Regions from separate parts of the Homo sapiens genome. Here region 1 is linked to region 2. The links are contacts of gene promoters, found by promoter capture Hi-C in blood cells and fetal thymus (Javierre and others, 2016). All regions are on one chromosome and are shown on one strand. The core of a region is centred on a gene start or on the middle of the fragment in contact, and the rest is flanking DNA. Distances in the headings are between cores, read along the strand shown. Region 1 overlaps LOC400499 (putative uncharacterized protein LOC400499). Region 2 holds the start of RSL1D1 (ribosomal L1 domain containing 1).

Region 1 (2,700 bases), core at 120-2,619, 450 kb after region 2:
CATGCCTATAATCCCAGCTACTTTGGAGGCTGAGGCAGGAGAATTGCTTGAACCCAGGATGTGGAGGTTGCAGTGAGCCGAGATTGCGCCGTTGCACTGCGGCCTGGGTGACAAGAGTGAAACTCCATCTCAAAAGGAAGAAAAGAAAAAAGAAATCTCTGGGGGAGGGGCATTCGAGGCAGGTAAAGAGACTGTGGTATATATACACCATGGAATATTACACAGCCGGAAAAAAGAATGAAATTCTGTCCTTTGCAGCAGCAGGGATGCAATTATCCTAAGTGAACTAGCTCAGAAACAGAAAACCCAGTATCACATGTTCTCACTTGTAAGCAGGAGCTAAACATTGAATACACATGGACATAAAGATGGAAACAGTAAACACTGAGGGCTCCAAAAGGGAGGAGGGTGAGAGGGAGCCAAGGGTTGGAAAATTACCTGCCTGGTATGATGTTCGATATTTGGGTGACAGGGACGCTGGAAGCCCAGTCCCCACCATTACACAATATACCTATGTAACAAACATGCACACTGACCCCCTCAATCTAAAATACATTTTTTAAAAAGAGTATTCCAGGCAGAGGGAACAAGACATGCAAAGGGCCTGGGGCAGGGATGGGTTTGCATGTTTTAGGAATGGCCAAGGAGCCACTGGGCTGGAGCTGGGTGGGTGGGGAATGGTAGGAGGTGGTCTGATCACACAGGGTCAGTCAGGCCACAGGGAGGCGTTTGCATTGTGTTCTATCTGCTACTAGAAGCCTTTGAAGCCATGATCAAATAAATGATGATTTCAGATCCCTCTGGCTGCTGTGTGGGGAGGGACCTACAGGTGGCAGAAGTGAGCAGTGAGGAAGCCCCATAATGGGCAGGGGCAGGGCAATAATAATGCGTGGACCAAGCTGGGGGCAGTAGTGATAGGTTTTAGAGACGTTTAAGAGCAAACTTCCTTCCCCACCCCAGCAGTCCCCCTGCAGTGCCCTCAAGTCACCCTCGGACTGTGGCACCCACCAGCAGGGACGGCGTCCCTCTCCGAACCTTTGCACAGGCTCTTCCATCTGCCTAGAATGCTCTTCCCTGCCTCCTCCCCAAGCTTGCTTCTCTGCGTTCCTTTCTCCCTTGAATGTCTCTTGTGACCATCCTTGTCACCTTATCCCATCATTTTCTGTCCTGTGACTATCTCGACTATCTCCCTGGGAGCCCCTTAAGGGCCAGGACCAGGTCTTGGCTAGCTTTGTACCCAGGCACTCAGCACTGGCTTGGGAGCATGATACCTGCTCGCTACATGATTGAGAAACCGCAATACCAACTGCGTGCCTCCTACAAGCTCCTCTCCACCGTGTAGCCCTGGGCTGAGTGCACCACTTGTATCATCTTGCAAAGGTTGACACTTTCTGGCCTCCATTTTCTAGGAAACTGAGGCTCAGAGAGGTTGAAAAATGCCCAGAGCCACACAGCTTGGCCATGGAATTGAGAAGTGGCTGTTCTGTGCTGTCTCCTGTTGGCCATACTCCCCTCACCTACTCCTCTCCTTTAAATTATCTGCTCATCCTTAGGAAGCATTTGGGTTTTTGATCCCCTGACATATGTCACCATTCAGGAAACTGTAAATGATCCACAAATATTCCCTTTTTCCTCCTCTGCAAGCTTCTCTTCTTTCCCATCCCAGGCAGAAGCATGGGTCGGGTTCCCCCATGACGCCGTCATTCTCTTCCAGCTCAGCGCTCTTCCCAGGGAGCTGTTCCTGCAGACCGCATACGAGCGAGCTCATGGGACCCGTGTCCTGCGCCAGGTGGTGCTGTGGGATGGCCAGGAGGTGGCCCTCACCGGGAGCCTTTCTGGGCCTTTCCCCAAGCCCACCAGGAACCTCAGCCTGCAGGGTGAGTGTGTGAGGGGCTGCAGGCAGGGGTGGCCCAGTCACTCAAGAAATCATCCCTGGCCAGGCGCGGTGGCTCATGCCTGTAATCCAAGCCCTTTGGGAGGCCGAGGTGGGTAGATCACTCGAGGTCAGGAGTTTGAGACCAGCCTGGCCAACATGGTGAAACCCCATCTCTACTAAAAATACAAAAATTAGCCAGGCATGGTGGCAGGCACCTACAATCTCAGCTACTTGGGAGGCTGAGGCAGGAGAATCGCTTGAACCTGGGAGGCAGAGGTTGCAGAGAGCCGAGATTGAGCCAGTGCATTCCAGCCTGAGCGAGAGTGAGACTCGGTCTCAAAAAAGCCATGACTGAGCACCTGCATATCCCAGGTGTAATCTAGGCACCAGGGGTCCATCAGGAAGCAAGATGGCCCAGGTGTCACCCCTCAGGGAGACAGGCATTGAGCAACAAGATGCACATAAGCAAAATAACGTCAAGCATGACCATTTCCACGAGTGGGAAAGGCTGTGAGAGCAAGCAGGGTCTTTGTGGGGTGTGGGCCTCCTTTAGGTGGGGTGGTCTGGGAAGGCCTCTTGGAGGAGGTGACTTCTGAACTGAGTTCTGAAGGATGAGAAGGAGCTGGCAGATCTGAGCAGAGGCACTTCAGGCGGAAGGCCCCACTTGGAAATGAGGTTTGCATGTGGAGCAGCAGCTGCGGGGCTAGCATGGCTGGAATGGGGAGAAGGGATGAGGCGAGGCAGGAGGGCTGGGGGACCCAGGTCATGCAGCGTCTCAGCTCATAGAGAGGAGCTGGGGCTTATCCTGAGTGCAGCCGGGCAGG
Region 2 (2,700 bases), core at 108-2,607:
CTTGAACCCGGGAAGCGAAGGATACAGTGAGCCCAGATCGTGCCACTGCACTCCAGCCTGTGCGACAGAGCGAGACTCCATTACAAAAAAAAAAAAAAAAAAAAGGAAAAAAATTAATTAAACCCATCCAACAAGAGAAAGGAGAAGTATCTCCTAAACATGCCTAGAACATCTCTGGAAGGTTCCAGGAGACACTGGTAAGGGTACCTCTGGGGAGGCGGGTGGAGTGGGAGGAAGACATTACAAAGCAAACCTGTCCTACCCAAGGGCCGCGTGCGGCCCTGGAGGCCAGGCTTTGAATACAGCCCAACACGAATTCGTAAACTTCCTTAAAGCATTACGAGATTTTTTTTAGATTTTTTTTTTAAAGCTCGTCGGCTATCATTAGTATTAGTTTTATATATGGGCCCAGGCAATTCTTCTTCCAGTGTGGCCCACGGAAGCCAAAAGATTGGACTCCCCTGTTCTAAGGTATTCCATTTGTCAGTTATCCAGCCTCCACTCCTAACCTGTTTGTTTAGCGACAAGGTCTCACTCTACTGCCTACGCTGGAGTGCAGTGGCGCGGATCAGAACTCACCGAGCCTCGAATTCCTCAAGATCCTCCATCCTCCGCCTCCCAAGTAGCCGGGACTACAGGCGCGCACCACCACGCCGGCTAATGTTTATAATTTTTGGAGAGACGGAGTCTCGTATATGCACGGACTGGTCTCCAACTCCTGGAATCCCTCCGCCTCGGCCTCCCAGAGCGCTGGGATTCCAGACGCCAGCCACGCGCACGACCAGCCACGCTTATTTGTACAGGATCTTACCTCCCGCCTCTCTGCGAGACCAGAAGCTCCTAAGAGACTGGCCCAGACTCATCTTTCGGTCCCTCATGCTGCTTAACGTGGCAGGTCGGGTGGCTCCGGGTGGCTCCCGTGCCTTATATTTCAGGGACTCCTCACCAGCCTGGGGTTGGCGTCGCCTAAAGTCAACGGGCAGGTGGGCAGTGGAGCCAGGATTCCGCGCTCTGCCCATGCCACGCGCGGCCTTCCCGGAGGCGGGGACCGTGGAGTGTGGAGGACCCCACTGGGCCTCCTGACGGGACTCTTCTCTCGCCTCAAGGCGCTTTCTTGATTTCTATCTAGTAAGAGTGAGAGGACACCCAAGCTACTCCCCACAGCTCATGGAAAGCTGGAGAAAAGCGGAAGAGCAGGTGCCTCCTCAAAGAAGGGATTCTGACAGCAGCCACTGCCCCGGAGAGCGAAACCCCACGCTCTCCCGGAAATGACGCACAGAGGCTCGGTTCCCGCCCCCTCGCTTCCGGGGCCGGGCTTGCTCGCGCGTGCGCACCAGAAGCCAGCAGTGGGGTTGCACACGCGCCTCTTCACGAGGTGGAAACAAGATGGAGGATTCGGCCTCGGCCTCGCTGTCTTCTGCAGCCGCTACTGGAACCTCCACCTCGACTCCAGCGGCCCCGACAGCACGGAAGCAGCTGGATAAAGAACAGGTGAGTGGTTCCTGGGGAGGGTGGCTTGGAAGCAGTGTGGCGGTTACCTCGTGAGGCGCAGGGTGCCGGAACCCGAGTGCGTGCTCGGCGGACTTCCCCGGGGCTGTGGGACGGTCGCTGGCGGGCCGTGTGCCTCAGCTGTCTCTCCCCTTTACACACGTGGGTGGGCGCCTGCTTTCCCTGGTCCTGCGGCCTGGCGCTAGTGAATTGGGTTGCAAGTGTGCTGTGGAGCTAGATGAGATAGACCTGGCGACCTGGCTTAGCTTCCCTATCATTAGCGCTTGACCGAATCGCTTAGTTTTGCAGGTCTGTTACCCGTTATTTAAAGTGGGCCCTTCGGCTCCCCGTTATCCAGGATCGGGAGAGGTAATGAGTGTAAAGCGCTTTGGCCTGGTACATGGTAAGAAGGTGCTCAGTAGGCCGGGCGCGGTGGCTCACGCCTGTAATCCCAGCACTTTTGGAGGCCGAGGCGGGTGGATCACCTGAGGTCAGGAGTTCGATACCAGCCTGGCCAACATGGTGAAACCCCGTCTCTACTAAAAATACAAAAATTAGGTGGGCGTGGTGGCGGGCGCCTGTAATCTCAGCTACTCGGGAAGCTGAGGCAGGAGAATTGCCAGGAGTTCTCAGTAAATGCTAAATGCATTTTGCTTTGCGTTTTTCCTGGGATTACTGCTTTCATCATTGAGGGCAGGAGGGGCACGTTTCCCTCTAGCCCAATCTCTTTAAGTAGAAGAGGTGCCCTTCTGCACACAGTACTGGAAGTGGGTACTTAGGCATGTTTGATGGATTCTTAGATTTCTGTGAATATAAACTGCAGGATCCTAATAGATACGGTTATGGAGGTTACCCCTTGAAATAGAAGTTGGAAGGGAAAAAATAGAAGGTGTGGGAGGGGGCAAATGCTAAATTAGATTGAGAACATTTCATTTATTTGTGTAAGTTATTGTGAAAACATTTCACTTATTTGTCTAATTTCCACTTTGCAGGTTAGAAAGGCAGTGGACGCTCTCTTGACGCATTGCAAGTCCAGGAAAAACAATTATGGGTTGCTTTTGAATGAGAATGAAAGTTTATTTTTAATGGTGGTATTATGGAAAATTCCAAGTAAAGAACTGAGGGTCAGATTGTAAGTTGTGATTTTCTACCTTTGCTGTTTTTATCTGTGTGTTTATTCTTTGTAACTCGAACAATTGCATCATGGTTACT

What was found. The method cuts DNA at HindIII sites, captures the fragments that hold promoters and counts their contacts. A CHiCAGO score of 5 or more calls a contact.
Region 1: a contact is called between a fragment that was not itself captured here and the fragment with the promoter of RSL1D1 in region 2, in 4 of 17 cell types (neutrophils, naive CD8 T cells, naive CD4 T cells and 1 more). The highest score is 7.9, in neutrophils.

What each region holds. Positions count from the first base shown.
Region 1 is chr16:11,403,881-11,406,580 of GRCh38, reverse strand. LOC400499 (putative uncharacterized protein LOC400499) reads left to right here. Exons shown (of 67, transcript NM_001370704.1): 48 at 1,715-1,877. Among named protein-coding and RNA genes, the nearest start is that of RMI2, 60 kb to the right of the region's middle. The HindIII fragment of the contact is 554 bases long and covers 1,093-1,646 here.
Region 2 is chr16:11,850,199-11,852,898 of GRCh38, reverse strand. It overlaps RSL1D1 (ribosomal L1 domain containing 1), which reads left to right and starts at 1,357. Exons shown (of 9, transcript NM_015659.3): 1 at 1,357-1,491; 2 at 2,481-2,620. The coding sequence starts at 1,387. RefSeq lists enhancers at 155-688, 689-1,223, 996-2,195 and a silencer at 1,241-1,427. The HindIII fragment of the contact is 5,793 bases long and covers 1-2,700 here.